Linked DNA regions of Homo sapiens: regions 1, 2, 3, 4, 5 and 7 are each linked to region 6. The links are contacts of gene promoters, found by promoter capture Hi-C in human tissues and cell types (Jung and others, 2019). All regions are on one chromosome and are shown on one strand. The core of a region is centred on a gene start or on the middle of the fragment in contact, and the rest is flanking DNA. Distances in the headings are between cores, read along the strand shown. Region 1 has its middle 180 kb from the start of DIRC1. Region 2 overlaps GULP1 (GULP PTB domain containing engulfment adaptor 1). Region 3 has its middle 160 kb from the start of DIRC1. Region 4 has its middle 83 kb from the start of WDR75. Region 5 overlaps GULP1 (GULP PTB domain containing engulfment adaptor 1). Region 6 holds the start of COL3A1 (collagen type III alpha 1 chain). Region 7 has its middle 140 kb from the start of DIRC1.

Region 1 (3,916 bases), core at 362-2,861, 360 kb after region 6:
CTTTAATGTTGATATTAGACAAGGACACAAAAGAATAAAAAACTACAGGGCAATATCCCTGATGAATATAGATACAAAAATCCTCAACAAAATACTAGGAAACTTCAAGAAAGGATTCCAGGAAAAAAATAATTTAAAAAAACATACTAGAAAAAAACAACAAAAATATTAGAAAAACAAATCTAATCAGCACATGAAAATGATTAGACACCATGATCAAGTAGGATTCATGCCGGAATGCAAGGGTGGTCAAATATACACAAATCAATAAATATGATACATTGCATCAACAGAATGAAGGACAAAAGTTATATCACCATCTCAATAAACACAGAAAAAGTATTTGATAAAATTCAATATCCCTTCATGGTAAAAACTCTCACAAATTAGGCATAAAAGGAACATACCTAAAAATAGTAAAGGCCATATGCAGAAAACCTATAACTAATATCATATGGATGGGGAAAAATTGAAATCTTTGCCTGTAAAAACTGGAACAAGACATAGATGTCCACTTTCATCACTCTTATTGAATATAATACAGAAAGTACTAGCCAGTGAAATTCCAATTTAGAAATTTTCCTAAATTGGAAAATAGGAAGCAAAAATGTTTCTGTTTGAGATAATGTGATCTTATACAGGAAAAAACCTAAAGACTTCACACACAAAAAAAATCTTAAAACTGATGGATAAATTCACTAAAATTGCAGGATACAAAATCAATATGCAAAAATTAGTAGTTTTTTCAATATACCAATAATGAACTATCTGAAGAAAAAATTAAGAAAGCCATCACCATTTATAAAAGCTAGAAAAATTAAAATATCAAGGCATAAATTTAATCAAGGAGTTCAAAACACCTGTACAATAAAAACTAAAAAATACTGATTAAAATAATTGAAGAGGACGCTAAAAAAACGGAAACACATCTTATGTCCATGGAATGGAAGAAGTAATATTGCTAAAATGGCTATAAAACTTAAAGCAATCTACAGATTCAATGCAATTCCTATCAAAACACCAATGCCATTATTCACAAAAATAGAGAAAAAATTAAATTTGTGTAGAACTCCAGAAGATCTCAAATAGTCAAAGTGATGCTGAGCAAAAAGAACAAAGAGAAATCAACTGCCTGACTTCAAAATATACCAAATCTATAGTAATCAAAATAGCATGGTACTGGTATAAAAGCAGACACATTGGTCAATAGAACAGAATATTAATTCTGTTCCACTCTGAGTTCAGATAGAAAACCATATATAAATCTACATATATTCAGCTAAGTGATTTTAACAAAGCTATCAAGAACATTTTATTGGGGAAATGACAGTTTCTTCAATAAATGGTGCCGGGAAAGCTGAATGTCTATATTTGGAAGAATGAAATTAGACCATTATCTCTCACCACAAATAACCGTAAACACAAAATAGGTTAAAGAAAATTAAATATAAGATGAGAAACTGTGAAAGTATTAGCAGAAAACTTAGAAGAAAAACTCAATAACATTGGTCTGGGCAAATATTTTTATAAATAAGTTACTGAAAGCACAGGCAACAAAAGTGAAAATGGATACATGGGATTATATCTAAGTAAAAAGCTTCCACACAGCAAAGGAAACAATCAACAGAATGAATCAACAATCCAAATAACAATTGGCCAATTGATCTGCATAGACATTCCTCAAAAGAATCATACAAATGGCCAAATAGTATATTTTAAAATGCTTAACATCACGGAAATACAAATCAAAACCAACACAATGAGATATCATCTCACTCCAGTTAGAATGGTAATTATCAAAAGGACAAAACACAACAAATGCAGAGAAAAGGGAACTGTTATACACTGCTAGTGCAAATGTCAATTAGTACAGTCACTATGGAAAACTGTATGGAGGTTGCTCAAAAAAAACTAAAAACACAACTACCATATGATCCAGCAATCTTACTGCTAGGTATGTATCCAAAGGAATAGAAATCAAATAGATATCTGCACTCCCATGTTCATTGCAGCATTATTCACAATAGCCAAGATATGAAATCAAACTAAGTGTCTATCAGAAGATGAATGAATAAAGTACAGTATATATACACAATGGAATAAAATTAATCCACAAAAAAGAATGAAATCTTGTCATTTGGGCAACATGGATAAGCCAGGAGGACATTATATTAAATGAATTCAGACAGGCACAGAAAGATAAATACCACATGTTTTCACTTATATGTGGATGTTTAAAAAATTGATCTCATAGAATTAGAGAACAGAGTAGTGGTTACTAGAGACTGGGACTGGTAGTAGTTAATGAATACAAAATTACAGCTAGACAGGAGTAAGTTCTAGTGTTCTATGACACTGTAGTATAACTATAATTAATAATATATCATATATTTTCAAAAGCTAGAGGAATTTTGAATGTTCCCAACACAAAGAAATGACAAATTTTTTTAGATGACACATATGCTAATTACCTGATTTGATTATTACCCATTGTATACATTTATCGAAATATCCTCTACTGCATAAGTACAATTATTATGTATCAATTAAAAATTATAAAAAAGAAAGAAATTGTAGGTTTTAGAAGGAAGAATTTATTGATATGGGATTGCTCTTCTGTGGTCCATATATTTTGTTACTTAGACAATTTCACCATGCCAATGAGATAGTTTTTAGAAGCTTCAAGAAAGTGATGGCCTTTTCCAGGAAAATATACAATCAAAGAACATTTGTAATAGACAGTGAAAGAAGATACAAGGATCAGAGAAGTGCTACTAAAGCAGATAAAGCATGTAAGCCCCCAAAATTCAACAGCTATGTTCCTTAGAATCACCGAGAGGATACCCCATTTACTAAAGTGATAGAAAATATGGTATTACAGATAACAATGAAAATAATAGGACCTCCAAACAGAGGTCAAGTAGAGGCAGTTAGCCATCAAATGTAAAGCACTGCATTATCATAAAGAGCAACAAAGTTGGCCTCTTAGGCAGATGTTCTTGACAGGTAAAAGCTATGGAAATGATCAACAAAACATGGCATCCCTATGGTCAATGTAAATGGTTAACCAAAAAGAGTCTTGCTCAGTCTACAAATATGGTCTATGGTCAGCCAGAAAAAGTACTGCCGAATCTATAGCTATCAATATAGTTTTACTCAATCAAGAGAAATCGAGGATAGATAATCAGCTTCTCCAATAAAAATTTATAACCTCTTAACCAGCATCAAGAATTGAGCAAGTTTTTAGAACCAGAGCCGATTGACTGAAGGAAGGGTCAATTCCTCAGGAATAAAGACTCTGTGACACCACACGTTATATATATATAGTGATATTACTTGACTTTTTCCAAAAGTATTTGCTATGGTTTGAAAATCTGTCCCCTCTTAAACTCATATTGAGACTTAATCTCTAATGTAATGGTATTAATATGTGTGGCCTTTAAGTGTTGATTGGGTCATAAGGTCCCTGCCCACATGAATGGATTAATCTATTCATGGATTATTAGATTAATGGATTGATGGGTATTATGGGATTAGGTTAGTTATCACAAGAGTGGGTCTGTCATAAAAGCCAATTTTGCTTTTAGTCAGCCTCCTTGCCATTAGATGCCCTGTTCCAGCTTGGAACTAACTCTACTAAGTGTCTTCACCAGCAAGTAGGCTAACACCAGATGTGGTCCTTTGGCCCTAAACTTTTCAGTCTCCAGAATTGTAAGAAATATATTTCTTTTCTTTATAAATTATCCATTTCTGGTATTTGGTTATACTAATAGAAAACAGCATATGACAGGAAATTGGTACCAGGAGTGGGGGTATAGGAGTGGGGGTATAGCTAATAAAGAATACCTGAAAATGTGAACACATCTTTGGGATTGGATAATGGGCAGAGGCTAGAAGAATTTGAAGGAGAAAGCTA
Region 2 (3,926 bases), core at 674-3,173, 410 kb after region 6:
GAGTAGAGATGTATTAAATGAGCAAGGTAGTAGGCTAATGTAATAACTCAACACCTACCCAGGCACAACATTGAAAAAACAAGCGGACTTGGGGGTGGGTATTACTGAATAGCTGTTGAAGTGGGAAAGTTGGAAGCAAGAGTTCTTTATGTCAAACTTCTCATCTCTTTTATTGTATTGTTTTTTCCTACTTGTTTTTCTCCCTTTCTCAAATATTTAGTGCCTATGAAATGAAAGCAGAGTGCCAAATGTAGTTTCTCTCCTTGCTTTGCTATTTATTTCCTTTTCCTTGTGAGGAGGGTTTGTTAAACCCTAAGCAGGTAACTTGAATGAGGCTGGCCAGGTGGTGTCTCTGGAAAACTTGAGGTATGCCCTCTAAATGGAACACCTGCTACTCTGTCCCAGTTAATTGTTGCCTGGTGGAAGTGAGCAATTCCAATCTGAAACTGTCAGATCTTATGTATGAAAGATGAGGCCAGAAGTCTGAAATTTTATATGAGAGCTCCCAATTTTAAGCGATGGTAAACAGTTTGTATTTTGGTAAAACACAGTGCCAGTGATCAAAATATATATGTCATCTGAATTTGGGCTTGTAAACAACTTACAATCTCAGATCTATTGATTTGAAACTGCCACAAATATATCTTACATCCACAAGCTCATTTCTTCTCCATTCATATCTCCACTGAATTCATAATGTCTTGCACATAGTAAAGACTAAAGATTTATTTACTTAATCAACATTATAAAGAATTTTGGTAAAGGCATCAATAAGATTTAATGTTGTCACAATTATGTCATATTTAGTAAGACCTCCAGATAACAAGAAGACTAGTAGTAATATATATTGAAAATGCTATGCTTTAACTCTACTACAAATTCTAATAATTTATTATCTACTGTGATCAACATAAAATGAAAACATGCTTTGTTAATCATCTTATATCATTTAATAGAATTTTTATAGTTCATTATTTAAGGAGGGTTTTAGACAAAAATATAGTATTTAACCTAGTTAACTAAAAAATGCAAAATATGTACATAATATTTTAAAGGAAGACTGTTTTACAAAAGAAAAGAAAAAAGACAAGAAAGTAAACAACGAGCTATAATAAAAACTACCAAATAAATGAAAATGACAGATACCAATGTATGCATGTTCATTGACTTAAACTAATTGGTTGTGTTAGATATTAAGATTATTTGTAATATTAAAGAAGTGGTTTTGATAGATTGTGGGATTATGAATAATTTGTTTTCTGTTTCTCATTTCAAAACTTTGGGTAATAGGTTTCTGTTTATTTTACAATAAAAAGACGTTTTTCTTCTTCTTTTTAAAAATTTCTTCCAAAACAAAATGGGATACATGTGCAGAATGTGCAGGTTAGTTATACAGTATACGTGTGCCATGGTGGTTTGCTGCACCTATTGACCCATCCTCTAAGTTCCCTCCCCTCGCCTCCCACCCCCTAATGGGTCCTGGTGTGTGTTGTTCCCCTCTCTGTGTCCATGTGTTCTCATTGTTCAACTCCCACTTCTGGGTGAGAACATGTGGTGTTTGGTTTTCTGTTCCTGTGTTAGTTTGCTAAGGATGATAGCTTCCAGCTTCATCCATGTCCCTGCAAAGGACATTATCTCATTCCTTTTTATGGCTGCAGAGTATTCCATGGGATATGGGATATATGTACCACCTTTTCTTTATCCAATCTATCATTGATGGGCATTTGGGTTGGTTCCAAGTCTTTGCTATTGGAAATAGTGCTGCAATAAACATACGCGTGCATTTGTCTTTATAGTAGCATGATTTGTATTCCTTTGGGTATATACCCAGTAATGAGATCTCTGGGTCAAATGGTAGTTCTAGTTCTAGATCCTTGAGGAATCGCCACACTGTCTTCCACAATAACTGAACTAATTTACATCCCCACCAACAGTGTAAAAACATTTATATTTCTCCACAGCCTTGCCAGCATCTATTTTTTCCTGACTTTTTAATAATCACCCTTCTGACTGGTGTGAGATGGTACCTCATTGTGGTTTTGATTTGCATTTCTCTGATGATCAGTGATGTTGAGTTTTTTTTTCATATGCTTCTTGGCTGCATAAATGTCTTCTTTTGAGAAGTGTCTCTTCATATCCTTTGCCCGCTTTGTGATGGGGTTGTTTTTTTCTTATAAATAAGTTTAAGTTCCTTGCAAATTCTGGATATTAGACCTTTGTCAGATGGTTGGATTTTTAATTATAGGTTGCTTCCCTTCTAAATTATGATTTCGATGTATCCTTCCCCTTTTTTTTTTTTTTTTTTTTTTTTTTGAGATGGAGTCTCACTCAGCTACCCAGGCTGGAGTGCAGTGGCGCAATCTCAGCTCACTGCAACCTCCACTCCCGAGTTCAAGAGATTCTCCTGTCTCAGCTTCCTGAGTAGCTGGGACTACAGGCACGCACCACCACACCCAGCTAATTTTTTTTATTTTTATAGAGACTGGGTTTCACCACGTTAGCCAGGCTGGTCTTGAACTCCTGACCACAGGTGATCCACCCGCCTTGGCCTCCCAAAGTGTCGATGTATCCTTTTAACGAGACATTATGTTATCTTTAAATACTCAATTTGTACATTATAAAGAATCATTTAAATGGTAACATTATTAATTATTCATTAATGACATTTGGCCTCATATTATTTATTTATATTAATAACTTTAAAAAACCATGTTCTCATTTTATAATAACATCTTTACTAGGCACTTAGCTGTCTAGTAAATATTCTGCATATATTATCTTACTTGATTCTCATCATGGCTCTGAAGTAAGGATTATTATTACCCCACAATACATATGATGAAACTGCAATTTTGTAAAGTTGTATAACTTGCCTAAAGCTAGTGAATGGAGAAACTGAATTTAAATCCAGATTTCTGACTCTCCAACCATCACATTTTTGGAGGTGGGGGGTAAAATTTATATACAATGAAATGCACAGATCATGATAAATTTATGAATCATATAAGATATATAATCTCCAACTTATTAAAAATAAAGAATATTTCTAGCCCACCAGAATGTCTCTTATGCCTACTTTCAGTCAAATCTCATCTATTATGGGTGACGATTCTTCAATTTTTATCATTATAAATCAGTTTTGCCTGTCCTTGATATCTATAAAAATAGACTAATATGTATTATTTTGTGTCTGTATTCTTCTACTAAATTAAAGTTTCTGAGTTTCATACGTGTTGTACTTATCAATAACACATTGGTTTTGTTGCTGATTAGCATTTCATGTTACAAATATACCACAAGTGATTTATCCATTGTACTATGGATGGACATTCATGGTTTTGTCAGTTCTTAGTTATTAGACATGAAACTACCACAAACATTCTTCTAAGATCTTTTTGTAGACATATGTTTTCTTGTCTCTTGGTAAATATCTAGAATGTAACTGTTAAATCATGGGAGGTTTAACATTATAAGAAACTGTGCAACTGTTTTCCAAAGTAATAATATAATTTTGCATTTCCACCAGCAGTTAAGAGAGTTCTCATTATGTCACATTCTCAGAAACAAGATATTGACAGTCTTTTTCATTTGAGACAATATATTGGATGAGTGATGCTATAGTAATGTGTTTTAAATTTATATTTCCCTGTTGAATAATAATATTGCTCAGTTTCGTGTGTTCATTGCCTCTTTTATGTTCTCTTTAATAAACTAACTCCCTGTAGAAGTCTACTGCCCACTTTTATTAGGTGTTTTGTCTTTTTATTTGTGATTTTTAGGAGTTTTTTATATAGTCTGGATACAGATCCTTTTTCAGATACACGTATTGGGAATATAGCCACTTGCTTTTTCAGTTTGCTGATAGTGTTTATAGATTAACAGAAAATGTTTTATTTTTGATAAAGTCCATTGTATCCTTTTTTTGT
Region 3 (3,701 bases), core at 875-3,374, 340 kb after region 6:
TACTTCTTATGTTGTATGGGCAGTTTGGTGGTAATTGTCTATTTTTTATTGATAGTTTTCTGATTTTACCTTGCAGTTTTTATTGTTTATATATGTATTCTTCTTTGAAATATATTATAGACTAAGCTCACAGTCGTCACACCCAAAGAACAAGGAAGCTAAAATATTTATCCATCAACTCTCATTCACTAGTTCAGAACACTTACAAAGGCATCGATTCCAGAATTTTTGTCTGCCCTAGGCAAGGGCAAGTGCCAGATGTCCTCAAAGTGTAGACACTGACAGTAAGACAGTAAGAGCTTTAAGAGCTGAATGCATGGAAGAGGGGACACCAACGGGATATAACTGGGGCATCTCCAGTATCTGCCACAATAAATGTTTATAATTGATTTCAGCTAATTCAGCTCTTCACAACTTGAAGGTTTTTTTATTTTTATTTTTGTTAGATATCTGTGACTTCAAAGCAGTACCTTCCTAGACCTATGCAAGAGAAGCACCATTCCTGAAACTTGCTCCTTAGAGAGACTCACATATCAAGGATGCCATTTAGGTCTCACAGAAATGCTTTCTCCTCTTTCTTACCCAAAATTCTCACATCAAAAAGCAGTACTATCTTAATCCTGTGAAGATCTGTGGGCTCTGCTGCTGTCAATCCATGATTAAAAGTACTTATGAGTGTGAAGAGGATTTGAGTAGTAAAAACACTTCACTAAGAGAAAAGGCAACTTAGTCAATTTATTACATTCTTCTTCTCAGATGACATTAATAAATAGTGTTTCAGTGTTGTCAAGGTAGAAGGAAAAACATAATTTAAAGTTTGCCAACTTGATTTATAATTTTAAACCTTTAAAGCTATGGTATGTGGGCCTCCATTTGTACCCCTAACCTGGGTTTATACATATTAAATGATAAGATATAATAAATGAAACTTAGAACGAATTCTGGCATATTTACATAACATTTAGTAGTAAGCAGGCACAAAAGTGTCATATAATCTGTTCTATCATTAGCAGTGGTGAATCCAACAGGTCTGTAGCAAACATGATTCTTGCCTCCTTGGAGGAAAAATTTCAGCTGAGAGGCACAAGACAGAAGGAAAGACCAAGGCAAGTTTTAGAGCAGGAGTGAACATTTTTTTTCAAGTTTTTGAGTAGGAACAAAAGGAAGTAAAGTAAACTTGGAAGAGAGTCAAGCAGATGACTTGAGAGATCCAAGTACCCAGTCAGACCCTTGACATGGAGTTTTTACACATTGGAATGGTTCCAGGGTTTGTGTGTCTCCTCCCTTGAGTTTTCCTTGGGGCAGGCAGGATGCACGCACAGTGGCCTGCCAGCACTTAGGAGGCGCTACGTGTGAAATGTGTATGTGTTTACTGAAGTTGTGCACATGCTCATTTGAGGTATTTTTTCCCTTACCAGTCCAGTGTTCCTAAAGGAAGTTCATATACCAGTTAAACTCTGCCATTTTGCCTCTTAGTGTACATGCTGAGGCTGCTCACCCAACTCCTGAGATCTTATTAGGAAGCCGCTGATAACCAGCATCAGGTGTTTTCCACCTACTGAGAGTTTGCCTTTCCCTAGTGCCAGCTTCGACCAATTATTGTTTTAGACAGACAGTTTAACAACCCGCTGACCATCACGTGATGGTCACCTGACATTCCTGGGGAGGGGGTACCATCTCCTGCCCTGCTCATGTCTGCTTAGCTACCCACTCTAACACTATGAACTGGTGAGTTCTGAGGTTTAGGCATTCCAGGAAGGACCTACATGAAAAGCTCGTCTGAGGCATATTCGATACTACCTTAGTGTCAGGATTCTGTTAATCTAATCAGAGTCAGGGCAGAATTATCTATAGGTGGCCTTGCACAAGACCAGTACAAATTCCAAGCCTAGGATATTATCCAGCCAGGTCCTTTCTTCCATTAATACAAGAGCTGAGCTGCCTATTTTGTCTAGGCCATCAAGGACTTCTACCATTCCTTATGAAAAATAATCAACTCTCTAAGGCAGATTAAAGTAGAATTATTTAAAGCTCCTCTCTGTTAACTTTCTCTGGTGTGTGAATTCTTAATTCAGGTATTTAAAATGCTAACTATCTAACCCTGAATTATATATTCTTGATTGGGGTACTTGTCCTAGTGTATAGATTAAAACTTACACACATAGCATTGTATACATTGAAACACTATAATGGAAATTAAATGTAGTATAATGCACTGTTATGGAAGGTCTTGCCCTGGTTTTGCTGAAAGTTCTATGGGAGAACTGGGGCCTGGAAGCCTAGAGCAGGCACAAAGCTTTATGCCTCCTTTCTCATTCCACGGTCCCCTTCCCATTCTGTCATAGGCTTTTCAGGTCTAGAACAGTTCATGGAGAATCTGGGTAGGAATGTCAACCAGGAGCCATCTGTAAAGCTATCAAAATTGGCTGCCTTTATGTCAACATCAGACTGCTAACATATGTGACCTTTAAGATCCATTTGTGCTTGCTCTCAGCAGGATTGTAAAGATGTTCTTAACATTCAAGAATGGAATGAATGCTGACTTTTAACCTTCTTTACTCTCCCCCAGTTGAAGCTGAGAAAAAGTTTTTACAATTTGAATGTCAGGCTTTTTCTTTTCTTTCTTTTTTTTTTTGTTGAGACAGATTAAGGAGAAACAGAGCTTTAGAACTACTTTCTCTTCCAAGGCCTCCAGGAGTTTGGCTGACAGCCCTAATGCCCACAGCAAGTCAAAAAGAATAACTGCACATTTGGTTCTTTGCAGAGCCCATTACCTTTAGGTCCCCTGCCCTTCCTCCAGGGGTTTTCTTGGCTAGGACTTAAACAAAGGATTGTGAAAGAAATATCAACCCAGTGAGCTTTTTCTAAACTTCCCACACCCCTTTCCATTTATAGCCAATGCCCTCTGAGCAGAGCAAGGCCATATAGAGCAGAGCCTATGCCAGACTTCAAGACAGCAGCACTTCTGCATGAGATGCAATGAACAAAGAAAGAGGAAATTTTATCTTCTAGTTCACTGGCCTGGCTTGGCTTTTACAGTGCAGCATTCTCAAGTAAAGTATCTAAAACACTCCAAAAAAAAAGAGCATCCTGTGCTTTTTCTAACATTTCCCATCTACACTCTGCTTTCCTAAACCTAGATGTCATAAACTGTGGAGAGAAGTATAAAAGGGATTCATTCAAGACCTGTCCCCAGGGGTCCCGTCACAATTCTGTGCCATGTGCTTGTAATCAGCAGTCGCTCCAGAGAATGAAGACTCAGATCCCTTGGATTCTTCTGCCTGGCCTTTTAGAAGCCCACTGGTCTATGCCCTGCCCTTCGCTGAAGGCACCTCAAGCTTATTGAAATGTTGGCCAGCCATGACTTTTAACCACTCCCAGAATTCTTTGTTACAGGATTACTCACATCCCTGAGGCCATGGATGGAATAACTGATCTGTAAACAAAAGGGAAACAACTGCCAACTCCTGGATCCAATAATAAGGATTACACTGTGGAACCTTGGGGATTGTGAGACTCTTAAATACTAAATTCCATAGTCAGGAATGGGGAATGCCCCAATTTGGGGCTTTTTGGTGTCTCCATCATGGGTTGTGTGCCGTGTTTCTTGTTCCTGATGTTTTATTATGTCAACCACAAAAAAAAAAAAAAAAAAAAAAAACCCAAAAAACATTGCATGCCTCTGCAGTAGTCATCCTTCC
Region 4 (3,942 bases), core at 941-3,440, 380 kb before region 6:
ATGGACACAAGGAAGGGAACAACACAGACTGGGGCCTGTTGGAGGGGTGGGGGAAGGGAGAGCATCAGGATAAATAGCTAACGCATGTGGGTCTTGATATTTAGATGATGGATAGGTGTAGTAAACCACCATGGCACATGTTTACCTATGTAACAAACCTGCACATCTTGCACATGTATCCCAGAAGTTAAAATAAAATAAAACAAAAAACAACAAAATAACATCCAGTATTTTTTCTGACTACAGTGGAGTAAACTGGAAATCAATAATGGAAGTAATATTGGAAACTATAAATTCATAAAAATTAAATAACATACTTCTAATAATGAATGGGTCAATGAAGAAATAAAAAAAGAAATTAAAAATTTCCTAGAGAAAAATGAAAATGGAAACACAACATACCAAAACCTATGGGATACAGCAAAAGCAGTTCTAGGAGGGGAGTTTTGTTTTTGTTTTTGCTTGAAACTGCTATTTACTGGTTGAAATATAATGTTGTTAAGATAGGCAAAATCCTAATTAAAATTTTAACTAAACAAAATTTTAAAAATGTATCCTATTTGCCATAAATTTTTCTAGGTGCTGAGCATACAGTAGTGAATATTACTGACAAATATCCTTAAGACAGGAGTTCTTAGCAATAAACACCTATATCAAAAAGTAGAAAGGCTGAATAAACAACCTAATGATGCACCTCAAGCAAATAGAAAAGTAAGAACAAACCAAACATAAAAGTAGTAGAAGGAAATAAATAATAAAGATTAGAGCAAAAATAAATGAAATGGAGACTTAAAAAAGATCAATGAAACAAAAGTTGGTGTTTTGAAAAGATAAACAAAATTGACAAATCTTTAGCTAGACTAAGCAAAAAGAGAGAAGACTCACATAAAATCTGAGATCAAAAAGAAGACGTTACAACTGATAACACAGAAATACAAGGGATTATTAGAGACTACTATGGTAACTATATGCCAACAAATTGTAAAACCTACTAACAAATAGATAAATTCCTGGACATATAGAACCTACCAAGATTGAACCATGAAAAAAATAGAAATCCTGTTTAGACCAATAATGTATAACATGATTAAAACAGTAATAAAAAGTCTCCCATCAAAGAAAAGCCCAGGACCTGATGGCTTCACTACTGAATCTATAAAAGATTTAAATAAGAGCCAACACCAATTCTACTCAAACTATTCCAAAAAGTTGAAGAGGCGGGAATACTTCTATTCTCATTCTATGAAGCTAACATTACCCTGATATCAAAACCAGACAAGGACGCACCAAAAACGAAAGCTACAGGCCAGTATCCCTGAGAAGCAGAAATGCGAAAATCAACAAAATACTAACAAATTGAATTCAACAGCATTTAAAAGGATTATTCACTATGATCAAGGGAGATTTATCCTTGGGATGCAAGGGTGATTCAAATGTGCATATCAATAAATGTGATACACCATACTAACGGAATGAAGGACAAAAATCAAACAATCATCTCAGTAGATGCAGAAAAGGCATTTGACAAAATTCAACATCTGCTTATGATAAAAACTCTCAGCAAATTAGATATAGAAGAAGTATACCTCAACAAAATAAAGACCATATTTGTATGACAGATCCACAGCTAATATCATACTCAATGGTGAAAAATTGAAAGCTTTTTCTCCAAGATCAGGAACAAGACAAGGATGTCCACTCTTGTCACTTCTACTCATCATAATAATAGAATTTCTAGCAAAAGCAATCAGTAAAAAGAGAAAAAATGGTATTCAAATTGGGAAAGGAGAAGTTAAATAGTCCCTGTTTGCACACTACTTGATCTTATATATAGGAAATCCTAACCACTCCACCAAAAACACTGTTAGAATTGATAGACAAATTTAGCAAAATTGCAGGTTACAAAACCAACATAAAAATATTAGTAGTGCTTCTACACATCAATAGCAAACAATCTGAAAAAAAAAATCAAGAAGGCAATCACTTTTATAATAGCTACAAAAAGTACCTAGGAATAAATTTAATCAAAGAAGTGAAAGATCTTTATACAAAACTATAAAATACTGATGAAAGAAATTGAAGAGAAGACGCACACAATAAAATGGAAAGTATCACTTTCTTATGGCTTAGAAGACTTAATATTTTTAAAATGTTCACACTATCCAAAGCAATCTACAGATTCATTGTAATATTTGTCAAAACACCTAAGATGTTCTTCACAGAAGTAGAAAAAAATTCCTAAAATTTATATGGAACCACAGAAGACTCCAAATAGCCAAAGCAACTATGAGCAAAAAGAACAAAGCTGGGGGCATCACACTACTTAATTTCAAAATATCCTACAAGGCTATAGCAACCCAAACAGCATGAAAATGTCATAAATACAGCAGCTATAGCCTTATGAAATGTATTTCTTAAAATCAATACTTGAAAATCAGAATTATTCCTTGATCCATGGGCTGCAAAATAAATGTTTTGTTAGCAGGCATGAAAACAACAGTAATCTCTTTTTACATCTCCATCAGAGTTCTCAGTTGACTAGGAGCATTGTAAATGAGCACTAATATTTTGAAGTGATTTTTTTTTTTCTGAGCAGTAGGTATCAACAATGGGCTTAAAATATTCAGTAAATTGGATCTGCTGACCATATGGCCAAACAGGAACAGCTCCAGTCTGCAGCTCCCAGCGAGATCGACATAGAAGGTGGGTGATTTCTAAATTTCCAACTGAGGTACCCGGTTTATCTCATTGGGACTGGTTGGACAGTGGGTGCAGCCCACAGAGGGTGAGCTGAAGCAGGGTGGGGTGTCACCTCACCTGGGAGGTGCAAGGGGTCATGGGCTTTCCCTCCCCTAGCCAAGGGAAGCCGTGAGGGGCTGTGCCATGAGGAACAGTGCACTCTGGCCCAGATACTGCATTTTTCCCCACAGTCTTCACAACCCACAGACCAGGAGATTCCCTCTGGTGCCTATGCCACCAGGGTCCTGGGTTTCAAGCACAAAACTGGGGAGCCCTTTGGGCAGACACTGAGCAGCTGCAGGAGTTTTTTTTTTTTTTTTTCATACCCGAGTGGCACCTGGAATGCCAGTGAGACAGAACCGTTCACTCCCTGGGAAAGGGGGCTGAAGCCAGGGAGCAAAGTGGTCTGGCTCAGCAGTTCCCACCCCCATGAGCCCAGCAAGCTAAGATCCACTGGCTTGAAATTCTTGCTGCCAGCACAGCAGTCTGTGGTTGACCTGGAACACTTGAGCTTGGTAGGGGGAGGGGTGTCCACCATTGCTGAGGCTTGAGTAGGCGGTTTTACCCTCACAGTGTAAACAAAGCCACTGGGAAGTTTGAATTTGGTGGAGCCCACCACAGCTCAGCAAGGCCGCTGCAGCCAGACTGCCTCTCTAGATTCCTCCTGAAAAAAAGGCAGTAGCCCCAGTCAGGAACTTATAGATAAAACCCCCATCTCCCTGAGACAGAGCACCTGGGGGAAGGGGCATCTGTGGGTGTAGCTTCAGCAGACTTAAACGTCCCTGCCTGACGGCTCTGAAGAAAGCAGTGGATCTCCCAGCACAGCATTCGAGTTCTGATAAGGGTCAGAGTGGCTCCTCAAGTGGGCCCCTGACCTCTGTGTATCCTGACTGGGAAACACCTCCCAGTAGGGGCCGACAGACATCTCCTACAGGAGAGCTCTGGCTGGCATCTGGTCGATGGCCCTCTGGGACAAAGCTTCCAGAGGAAGGAACAGATAGCAATCTCTGCTGTTCTGCAGCCTCTGCTGGTGATACCCAGGCAAACAGGGTCTGGAGTGGACCTCCAGCACACTCCAGCAGACCTGCAGCAGAGGGGCATGTAAGAAGGAAAACTAACAAACAGAAAGGAATAGCATCAACATCAACAAAAAGGACATCCACTCAGAGGCCCCATCTGAAGGTCACCAACATCAAAGACCAA
Region 5 (3,818 bases), core at 1,186-3,685, 420 kb after region 6:
GCCTTTCCTCTACGAACTGGAACAAGACAAGAATGCCCACCTTCATCACTCCTATTCAACACGGTACTGGAAGTCCACCCAGGGCAATCAAACAAGAAAGAAATAAAAGCATCCAAATTGGAAAACAGGAAGTCAAATTATCCCTCTTTGCTGATATGATCTTATATCTAGAAAAACCTAATTGCTCCATAAAAAAACTCTTAGATTTGATAAATGAATTTAGTAAGATGGAGGATTCAAAATTAATGTACAAAAATCAGGAGCATTTCTGTATACCAATGATGTAGCTGAGAAGGAAAGCAAGAAGGCAATCTCATTTACAATAGCGCAATAAGTATACACATGCATATATATACGTATATATATAGAGAGAGATAAACACATATATGTATATACATATATAGGAATAAATATATATATATATGAATAAATTTAACCAAGGAGGTAAAAGTTCTCTATAAGGAGAGAACTATTTATTGACTGATAAAAGAAATAGTCAATGACACAAACAAATAGAAAAATATCCTATATTCATGGATCATAAGAAATAATATCATTTAAATGACTACCATCCAAAGCAACCTGTAGATTCAATGCAATGCCTATCAAAATACTGACATCATTCATCACAGAATAAGAAACGGCAAACTTAAAGCAATTCTGAGCAAAAAGAGCCAAGCTGGAGGCATCACATTACCCGACTTCAAAATATACAAGGTAACAGTAACCAAAGCAGTATGGTATTGGTATAAAAACAGACACACAGAATAATGGAATAGAATAAAGAACTCAGAAATAAAACCACTTATTTACAGTCAACTGAGGTTTGACAAAGCCAAAAAGAAGTTACACTGGAGAAAGAACATCCTCTTCAATTAATGGTGCTGGGAAAATTGAATTGAATAGAATGAAACTGGACCCCTATCACCATATATAAAAATCAACTCAAAGTGGCCTAAAAACTTAAATGTAATATCTGGAACTGTAAAAATATTAAAAGAAAATCTAAGGAAAACTACTGAACATTGGGCTAGGCAGAGAATTTATGACTAAGATCTCAAAAGTACTGGCAACACAAACAAAAATGGACAAATGGTACTTAATTACACTAAAAAGCATCTACACAGAAAAATAAATAATCAACAGAATGAAGAAACAACTTTTGAATTGGAGAAAATATTTTCGGATTATTCATCTGACAGAGGACTAACTTCCAGAATATACAAGGAACTCAAACAACTTAGAAAAAAAAAATGTTCCCATTTAAAAAAAAATGGGAAAGAACATGAATAGACATTTCCCGGAGGAAGACACACATTCAGCCAGCAAGTATATTAAAACATGCTCAATATTATAATCATCACAGAATGCAAACCAAAACCACAATGTTATCATCTTAACCCAGTCAGAATGGCTATTGTCAAAAAGACAAAAGATAACAGAGGTTGGCGAGGATGTGGAGAAAAAGGAACTTTTATGCACTATTGGTGGAAATGTAAACTACTAAAGCTACTACGGAAAACAGTATGAAGATTTCAAAAAAAAACCTGCAAATATACTTATCATTTGATCTAGCAGCTCCACTACTGGGTATCCATCCAAATGAAAAGAAATCAATATATCAAAGGGATTCCTGCACTGAGATGTTTATTTCAGCACTATTCACAATAGCAAACATATGGAATCAACCTAAATGTCCGCCAATGGATAAATGGATGAAGAAAATGTGGTGTATATATGCATAATGAAATATTATTTGGCCATAAAAGTAATGATATCATATCATTTGCAGCAACATGGATGGAACTGGAGGTCATTATCTTAAGTGAAATAAATAAGGCACAAAAAGACAAATATTGCATGCTCTTATTTACATGTGAAAGCAAAGTATTTCATCACATGGAGGTAGAGAGTAGAAAGATGGATAACAGAGCCTGAGAAGAATAAATGGGGAAAGGAGGATGAAGAGAAGTGGGTTAATGGGTACAAACATACAGTTAGAGAGAAGGAATAAATTCAATGTTTGATAGTAGAGTAAGGTGACTATAGTTAATATAAATGTATTGTACTCAGGTGATGCCCTCCCTAAATGCCTTGACTTGATCACTACATATTATATCCATGTAACAATGTTTCACATCTACTCCATAAATTTGTTCAAATAAAAGAAAGTTTGTCTTAAAAAATCACATACAAAAGAACCTCAGACAAATTAACTAAAAAATTAGTTTTCTAGTTTACAGCTGGTCACTCCTGCTTGTTGTCATAATAAGCCAATTCTTCAGAGTTTTTAAACTCAGGGACTTGATATGTAAATTATAGTATTTCATGAAATGGAGACATGAAAATTGGTATTGGCAGGAAATACTCAGCAACAATAAGCTTCCAGATTCTAATTTTAAACTAATTACATTAAGTTGGATGGCTAATCTAAGAAATTAGCTCTCCCTCAATCATGTAATGAAATAAAAAAAACATTAATTTTTTATTTTGATAAATGTGATTCAAAAATTATTAACACAAAGCAAACGTGAAATATGGCTATAATAAGAATATGCAGTAAACACCTTCTCACAGACAGACCTTGTAAAACGACTGGATGCAGTGATTCCTTCTAGTACTAATAATGTATGATTCTTTTGACAATGAACCCTTTTTACGGAGAATTAATTAAGATGTAAAAATGAAGTTTTAAACTTTGCCTTATTTTACAGTTCCTTTCACATCATTAAAAAATGTGTGTGTGATAATTTCATTTGTTTATTGGGGCTACTCTTTAAATTATATTAAAAGCAGCATTCAGCAAATAAGGTATATTTATTAACATTTGGAAATGAAATTGTGAAAAATAAAGAAAATCAAAATAATGGTTAAACAGTTGACAGCAATTATATTTAATTTATAATAAAAATCAACCATATCACAATAAATTCTCTGTTCTAGTTTTGTAGTATGCTAAGGTAAGCCTTCCTCTAAGTTCAAATTCTGTTTCTATCTAGCTTGTCACTCTAGGAAAGAAACTAATTCTTTTTGGCCTGCATTTACTTAAAATAAGACAAAAGGTTTGGTCCAAATAGGCCATACTTTATTTTTCAGATATTTAAAGTAAACTTTATTTTCAGATAATTTAGATTTACACTCAGCTGTGAGAAATAATACAGAGAGATCTTGTGTATCCTTTGTCCAGGTTATTCTAATGATAATATATTGCAAAACTATAGTACCAATTGCAATCAGGATATTCATAATATAGTCAGAATACAGAATAATTTGATTACGACAAGAGTCCTTCATCTTGCTGTTTTATAAGCACATCCTCTTCTAGCCTGCCCTCACCATCTCCTTAACCTCTGGCAATCACTAATTGTTCTCCATTTCCTTAATTTTGCTATTTTAAGAATGTTATAGAAATGGAATCATAGAGTACACAGGCTTTTGAGATAGACTTTTTGCATTCCTTAATCTCTGGAGAGTCATCCACATTGTTGTGTGTCTAATAGTTCATGCCTTTTTATTGCTAAGTAATGTCCCTTCACACATTTTCTGGATGGATTGTAGTTTTCGGCTATTATGAATAAGCTTCTATAAATATTTGTGTATAGGTTTTTGTGTGAACATTTTAAGTTTTGATTTCTCTGGGATAAATGTCCAAGTATTTCATAGGACAGCTGCATGTTCAGTTTCTTATAAAACTGCCAAACTGTTTTTCCTGAATGGCCATACCATTTTATATCTCCATCAGCTATGTGTGAATGATGTACTTTTTCCCCATTCTTACCAGCATTTGGTGATTTTATTGTAGCCTGTCTGATAATTCT
Region 6 (3,779 bases), core at 453-2,952:
AAGGGGAGAGGAATGAGAAAGGAAGAAGGATTGAGAGTTCAGGGGAAAGAAAGGGTGAGGAGGCAAGGAGAGAGAGAACTAAAAAAAAGAAATGGAGGCATAAGGAGGCCACATGGGGAGTAGGGAGGGAGTAACAGGCAGGGAAGACAGAGGAGGAGAGAGGAGTAGATATGGGCTTGCCTAGGAAGGGGTGGGGTGATGAGTGAAGAGAAGTCTAAAGGAGCCAAAAGGGGTGGAGAGAGATAAGGAGGAGGGCAAAGCGAAGGAGAGGAGGGGTAAGGAGGAGAGGAAATTAAGGGAACAAGGAAAATGGGTGTTTCTTTTCTTTTGTGTCCATGGGCTGAATATAACTGAAGACATTTCATTGTATATCTACCCCTCCCCTCATACACACATTTACATGTATTAGCTATGAGGACAACAAATACATTTGATATTACAAACAAAAACCAAATTTTCATGCAGTGTCCTTTGCAAAATCTATATGTTTAAATGTAACCATGTTTAGTTATGTGCAATAAAAATTGTCTAATAATTTCTCCTAGCTATCTTTACATTTAGCACTTAAATATTTATTTCTATGGAAGTTTGTATTCCAATTTGTTCAGCATTTTCATGACTATGGTAAATAAAAGAATATTTTCACATAAATAATGAGACAAATGTGTTTTTAGGGGAAATTAGAATATGAAAAACATTACATGCAATTATTAGAAAATATAGCAAAACAGCTTTCTGAAGTCAAACAGTACTAGTATCTTTACCTTGTTTGCAGCAAAGTCAAACCTCCTGTTGAAACATTTTAAAAAATATTTTCTTCATTAATGCGAATGTGGTTAAAACGTAGAATATGTGGAAAATATTAGTCCCTTAATATCAAGCTACTAGAAAAGATGAATTAATCAATCATTCTTGAAACAAAATAAAAACAGGAATAATAAAATATTTTAGCAGTTTGATCCCTTTGAAGAATGTTTATAGGTATCTTGTAGCCATTTTACAGAAATATATTCAATGATTCTGATAATGCGTAGAATCTTCCTTTAGACTGTTCTTAATCCATGATATTTGAAAGGCATTCTTATTCAGAAAACAATGCTCAATATTCTAACCTTACAAAGAATCCAGCAGACAAAGAGGAACATAAAATTATTGCAAGAGACCAATAACTTCCAGACTGCCTGGGGAAGTATTCCAAGATGTTAACAATCCAGGAGGGAAAAATTTTAAAGCCATTTTTAAAAGTTTCCAGTGCCTTTAACATGAAAACAAGTTAGTACAAGAACATCTTATCTTAACCACAGAACTCTTAAAAACACACATAACGCGATTATTTTTCAAGTAATGTAAAAAGCACAGCCATGGTCAGTTCAACGTTTCACAATCTGGAGCTTATAGAGGAAATTATCTTGAATCAGGCAACTGATTTTCCCCTTTACACCCCTCTTTGTGAGGAGAAGAAAGACAAAAATCCCATAAAGTTTCTTGAAATCAGTACCTACTCACCTTCCTGTTGTGCCAAAATAATAGTGGGATGAAGCAGAGCGAGAAGTAGCCAGCTCCCCTTTTGCACAAAGCTCATCATGTCTAAATATCAGACATGAGACTCTTTGTGCAAAAAGGAGAAAAGAAAAGCAGTTCAAAGTAGCACCATCAAGTTGTTCCCTGCCCTTCAGCACCGGGCCCGTCATAAAACTCAGCCACTGAGATTCCTTTGCTTTGGCCTTAAATAGGAAAAAGTTTGGCTTCCCTCACTTTCCAGCCCCTTTCTGAAATATGAGAGCCGCACCCATCCCCTCAGCAGTAAAAGAAATGATAAATATTTCTTTTTCCCTTATAGAAGACACAACCCACAGTAAGAAAAAGAGCACATCTGGAGTTTGTATGCATCTGCTTATGTAAAAGTTTTTTTACATATTTCACTCTTACATATATGTTTGTATAACTTAGGAACGTATAGAAATGCTCTGCCTTGTTTTAATACATACAATGTAAATGCATACATTTTTATTTCCCCTTATGAAGTTAACAACTGCATAATTTTGAAAAACTGCTTGATGCCCATTTATCTAGTATGTCTAATTTACAGAACTGATCTTCCTAGAAGATTTTTATGTTGGGATTTTGCCAGAAGTAATCCTAACTCAATTTAAATAGGAGACTGTAAGAGACTCACGGAAAGAAATGCCACCGTATGCCCCTTCGACTCATCCACCCACCCTGGGTCCTAGAAGTTAAGTTTCAGGCAAATATCAAAAGACAAAGTATTTCAGCAATGTTTGAATGGCTTCCTAAAAGTTAGATACTTATCTATAGCTGTTTCCATTTCTCACAAATTTCTTTAGCAAGCCAGAGTGCTTTCTTGTGAGATTTCCAATTTTTATGCTGCCTGGGAAAGACAGAGCAGATTTTTCTAGAGAAAAATTCAGCCTTTTCATGACATAACTTTTTAGGAAACTGGAAGAGAAAGAGTTTATCACATAGAATAGCAAAAGAGTACCAGAGAAAGTGGTCATTTTTTCTGCATTACTCTAAAGATTAGTATAAATATTTCTAATTTAGACTTTTATGTGTATACTTTCCAGATCCTCATCCACAAAACTTTCCAATGTATTTCTGGATCTATCTAAGCAGTAATTTTTGTGTCATATTTGAAAGAGGGGCAAATACCATTTATAGGTCTTTGATAAATCTCTGCAGGAAAAATATGCTTGTCCACAGTATAAGGCTATATCTGGCAATGGAGATATCTCTTTACACCCTAATCATCAGTTCATAGTTAGTTCATCTATCTCTATAATCTACGGTGGACATTTCAATTCTAATCAAGGTCACTTGAACTAATTTTCTTCACCTTCACCTAAACATGTCCGTCTCTATGCCTGTGCACATAAAATTCTCCCCATTTCACACCAATTAATGGAAGTCACTTCCTTATGCCTCAATGCAAAACTTTCCTCCTTAAGTAAATTACCTCCTTTAAACTAATTTTCATCTTTCTCTTTCTTCTAATTTGTGTTACTAAATTTTCACTCAACTCATGTCATATGTATATTCCCAGGTGTACATGAATCCTGTAAGCATGGACAGTGGCAAACTTGCTTTCTTGTTTCTTGCATCTTTTTTTTTTTTTTTTTTGCGACGGGGTCGCCCTCTCTCGCCCAGGCTAGACTGCAGTGGCGCAATCTCGGCTCACGGCAAGCTCCGCCTCCCGGGTTCACGCCATTCTCCTGCCTCAGCCTCCCGAGTAGCTGGGACTACAGGCGCCCGCCACTACGCCTGGTTAATTTTTTGTATTTTTAGTAGAGACGGGGTTTCACCGTGTTAGTCAGGATGGTCTTGATGTCCTGACCTCGTGATCCGCCCGCCTCGGCCTCCCAAGCTTTCTTATATCTTCAGTCACAAGGACACAAACCAAGACATCTCAATGTAGATGACATCATTTGATGACAGGAAAGGAAAACTAGAACGAGACCAACCTCTTGTGTATCTTTATTTTAGATTGGAGAGTCACTGCTTGGGGGCGTGGGAGAAAAGTAACTGTTGAGAATGGTCATGAATATAAGCTTTTCTACTGGATCACAGTAGAGATGCTGGGGAAAGGCTGTTATATGCATCTTTCTGTCTTTCAGACATCTTTGTCCTGTACACAAAAAATATTTCCTGTGTTCAAACCAATTCAGAAACATAGTTTTTCTCATGATGTCTTTGTATCTACGTAGAATTCATATATCTATATTAGATTTCTCTCATTGTTTTAGGTGGTCTATAAAAGCTGA
Region 7 (3,740 bases), core at 484-2,983, 330 kb after region 6:
CTACTAAAAAAAAAAAAATACAAAAAATTACCCAGGCGTAGTGGCGGGCGACTGTAGTCCCACCTACTTGGGAGGCTGAGGCAGGAGAATGGCGTGAACCCGGGAGGCAGAGCTTGCAGTGAGCCGAGATGCGCCACTGCACTCCAGCCTGGGCGAAAGAGAGAGACTCCGTCTCAAAAAATAAATAAATAAAATGTGGAAAGAAGCACATACAGAACATAACCTTTATGTATAGTTACAATTTAAGAATGATGGCGGATTGAAGATATGTTTTGTCTAAAAAAATTAGTTGTTCAACCAATGGCAGTAATCACAAATTTCTCCTTGCTATTTTTTTTCCTCATAAGTGCTATGACCAACTTAAATTAAGGTACTTAAATAGCTACCTAAATACCTAAACAAGCTACCTACATAAACAGTGCTTTATGTATATGAATCTCATCATATGGAAAAAGCATAGCTGGCACAATATCTTTTTATCAGTCAGATTAGCAAGAAGTAATAGAATGTGTTTAGTACCTTTTCCATTCAAATCTGTTCTTCAACTTAAATATAATTATTTTATTGACAATTACTAATACATGGCTCACTGATTCCCAAGCATTATACTAAGTGAGATCTCATAATTATTCTATTAGGTAGGCACCGATATGTCACCTCCATTTCACAATGAGGAAACCAAGACAATGAAGAAACTGAGGTTAGAAAACTTGGCAAAATGATATAGCTATTAAGAAGAAAAGGCAGGACTCTGACCTAGACAGTCTGCTTTCAGAGTCTATTCTCCAAATTACTACTCTGTATTATCCATTTCTACCATCATTTTCTTTTCGTATTTCACATTTTTAAAAAAATAACATTGTCAATTTGTCATTTATAACTACATTAAGTGAACATTAAAAGCATGGTATCATTAAATAAAAATGTATCTTTTGGCTCCATAAATGTCTTCTTTTGAGAAGTGTCTGTTCATGTCCTTCACCCACTTGTTGATGGGGTTGTTTTTTTCTTGTAAATTTGTTGGAGTTCATTGTAGATTCTGGATATTAGCCCTTTGTCAGATGAGTAGACTGCAAAAATTTTCTCCCATTCTGTAGGTTGCCTGTTCAATCTGATGGTAGTTTCTTTTGCTGTGCAGAAGCTCTTTAGTTTAATTAGATCCCATTTGTCAATTGTGGCTTTTGTTGCCATTGCTTTTGGTGTTTTAGACATGAAGTCCTTGCCCATGCCTATGTCCTGAATGGTATTGCCTAGGTTTTCTTCTAGGGTTTTTATGGTTTTAGGTCTAACATTTAAATCTTTAATCCATCTTGAATTAATTTTAGTATAAGGTGTAAGGAAGGGATCCAGTTTCAGCTTTCCACATATGGCTAGCCAGTTTTCCCAGTACCATTTATTAAATAGGGAATCCTTTCCCCATTTCCTGTTTTTGTCAGGTTTGTCAAAGATCAGATAGTTGTAGATATGTGGCATTATTTCTGAGGGCTCTGTTCTGTTCCATTGGTCTATATATCTGTTTTGGTACCAGTACCATGCTGTTTTGGTTACTGTAAAGGCTCATCATCCCTGGCCATCAGAGAAATGCAAATCAAAACCACAATGAGATACCATCTCACACCAGTTAGAATGGCGATCATTAAAAAGTCAGGAAACAACAGGTGCTGGAGAGAATGTGGAGAAATAGGAACACTTTTACACTGTTGGTGGGACTGTAAACTAGTTCAACCATTGTGGAAGTCAGTGTGGCAATTCCTCAGGGATCTAGAACTAGAAATACCATTTGACCCAGCCATCTCATTACTGGGTATATACCCAAAGGATTATAAATCATGCTGCTGTAAGACACATGCACACGTATGTTTATTGCGGCACTATTCACTATTCACAATAGCAAAGACTTGGAACCAACCCAGATGTCCAACAATGATAGACTGGATTAAGAAAATGTGGCACATACACACCATGTAATACTATGCAGCCATAAGAAATGATGAGTTCGTGTCCTTTGTAGAGACATGGATGAAGCTGGAAACCATCATTCTCAGCAAACTATCGCAAGGACAAAAAATCAAACCCCGCATGTTCTCACTCATAGGTGGGAACTGAACAATGAGAACACATGGACACAGGAAGGGGAACATCACACACCGGGGCCTGTTGTGGGGTGGGGGGAGGGGGGAGGGATAGCATTAGCAGATATACCTAATGTTAAATGACGAGTTAATGGGTGCAGCACACCAACATGGCACATGTATGTATATGTAACAAACCTGCACGTTGTGCACATGTACCCTAAAAATTAAAATATATATTAAAAAAATAACAATGTAAGCAATCATTTTGAACTATACAAGCTTTTAATAAGCAGCTTTGCATATACTATTTTTTAATTTGCTAACTTATTTTTCTTTTCTGCCATAAACAAAGAGTCATTTCCGGTATAGTCTTTCTTTACCAAGGTTAATCTCATATTTGTTGGCACCCCTCTTGTATTATTACTTCCTCTACACTATCCTCCCCTGCTTTACTTGTTTTCAAACAATTGTTGTCTTTCCATTATGGGTAAGGCTTTATACCACAATAGATTTTCTTGCTACTAAAGTATTTGAGATCATCAGGATGACTGAATTCACGACCACTTGATGAAATACTCTTGAGGGTTAAAGGAATCTTATTAATTATGACTCCCATTAAAACATATATAGAATAGACTCTCTTGAAAATCTAAATTTATGTTTACTCTAGACATGTAAGATGAGCCTTGAAATAAATACGTCTGATAGACTAAGATGGTAGAGAAGTGTGTTAATCACAAGCTGTAGAGTCATTAAAAGAAGAAAAGCCTAATGTGTGTTTAGGGAAAGTGTAAGAAGCTTAGGACAGCTGGGATAGAGACTCCCAATTCCATGGAAATACATAATAAAGCTACAGAGTGGTTATTCATAGTTTAGAAGACTGTGATCACCAGATTAAGGAATTTGACCTTAATTTAGTAGAAGGTGCAGGGTCATCCAGTGTTTCAGGGCAAGAAATGGTGAACAAAAACATAATGAACCAAAGCTTAAACAAGATTAATCTAATTGGTGATTATAGCTGATGGATCATGGCAAGCAGTTTGAAGATGGATGAGACGCCTCAAGTGTGAAGTAATAAGCTTCATACTTTGTCAAGGGTTTTTTTTTTTTTTTCTTTTTAAGTATGTGCTATAATGAAAAGATTTGATCTGACTGTTTGAGAAATCCAATACTGGAAAATTTAGTGAAACTTAAAAACTTTAGTGATGGATTTCCTGGCAACAATAATTTTTTTCCGAGACTTAGTCCAAAGTTATCTTAATGAACACAGCTGCAAAATCAAAACCTTACAGATTATACCACAATTCCCTAAGATTGCACAGCAGGAAATATAATATATATATTTTCTACTTTTTATACGTGACTTTTAAATGAAGTAGTCAAAACCATTTTTATAATTATTGATCCCCTCCACTTATATACAATCGTAAAAAATTAAAAATATACCATGTAATGCTGGGTTTCCAAACAAAATGATGGCGGAAATAATACTGTGTATTGGTATATTTATTATTCATACAAAATTAGCTCTTCTTTTATTCTTAATAATTATCTCATTTTGCAGGTGAAGAAACAAAGAATCAAAATCAAAATTATGTAACTCTTGTACTACCCAGCAAATAAGTGAAGTCAAGTAAAGTAAGTAGGGCCTTGTTACTCTGACTC

Evidence for each region. Contacts are between HindIII fragments. The study calls those that stand out against the background at their distance.
Region 1: a fragment that was not itself captured here is called in contact with the fragment with the promoter of COL3A1 in region 6 in 1 of the 25 tissues and cell types used here (psoas muscle).
Region 2: a contact is called between a fragment that was not itself captured here and the fragment with the promoter of COL3A1 in region 6, in 1 of the 25 tissues and cell types used here (aorta).
Region 3: a fragment that was not itself captured here is called in contact with the fragment with the promoter of COL3A1 in region 6 in 1 of the 25 tissues and cell types used here (mesenchymal stem cells).
Region 4: a contact is called between a fragment that was not itself captured here and the fragment with the promoter of COL3A1 in region 6, in 2 of the 25 tissues and cell types used here (aorta and mesenchymal stem cells).
Region 5: a contact is called between a fragment that was not itself captured here and the fragment with the promoter of COL3A1 in region 6, in 2 of the 25 tissues and cell types used here (aorta and mesenchymal stem cells).
Region 7: a contact is called between a fragment that was not itself captured here and the fragment with the promoter of COL3A1 in region 6, in 1 of the 25 tissues and cell types used here (aorta).

Annotation. Positions count from the first base shown.
Region 1 is chr2:188,611,569-188,615,484 of GRCh38, reverse strand. No RefSeq gene overlaps it. Among named protein-coding and RNA genes, the nearest start is that of DIRC1, 180 kb to the left of the region's middle. The HindIII fragment of the contact is 3,960 bases long and covers 1-3,591 here.
Region 2 is chr2:188,565,182-188,569,107 of GRCh38, reverse strand. All of the region lies in intron 7 of GULP1 (GULP PTB domain containing engulfment adaptor 1), which reads right to left. Among named protein-coding and RNA genes, the nearest start is that of DIRC1, 220 kb to the left of the region's middle. The HindIII fragment of the contact is 4,888 bases long and covers 1-3,926 here.
Region 3 is chr2:188,629,194-188,632,894 of GRCh38, reverse strand. No RefSeq gene overlaps it. Among named protein-coding and RNA genes, the nearest start is that of DIRC1, 160 kb to the left of the region's middle. The HindIII fragment of the contact is 4,693 bases long and covers 1-3,701 here.
Region 4 is chr2:189,356,882-189,360,823 of GRCh38, reverse strand. It overlaps a transcript of COL5A2 not described here. Among named protein-coding and RNA genes, the nearest start is that of WDR75, 83 kb to the left of the region's middle. The HindIII fragment of the contact is 4,125 bases long and covers 128-3,942 here.
Region 5 is chr2:188,549,459-188,553,276 of GRCh38, reverse strand. All of the region lies in intron 7 of GULP1 (GULP PTB domain containing engulfment adaptor 1), which reads right to left. Among named protein-coding and RNA genes, the nearest start is that of DIRC1, 240 kb to the left of the region's middle. The HindIII fragment of the contact is 7,041 bases long and covers 1-3,818 here.
Region 6 is chr2:188,972,296-188,976,074 of GRCh38, reverse strand. It overlaps COL3A1 (collagen type III alpha 1 chain), which reads right to left and starts at 1,702. Exons shown (of 51, transcript NM_000090.4): 1 at 1,507-1,702. The coding sequence starts at 1,585. The region is part of intron 1 of LOC105373791 (a long non-coding RNA gene); the gene reads left to right. The HindIII fragment of the contact is 6,513 bases long and covers 1-3,779 here.
Region 7 is chr2:188,647,177-188,650,916 of GRCh38, reverse strand. No RefSeq gene overlaps it. Among named protein-coding and RNA genes, the nearest start is that of DIRC1, 140 kb to the left of the region's middle. The HindIII fragment of the contact is 4,565 bases long and covers 1-3,740 here.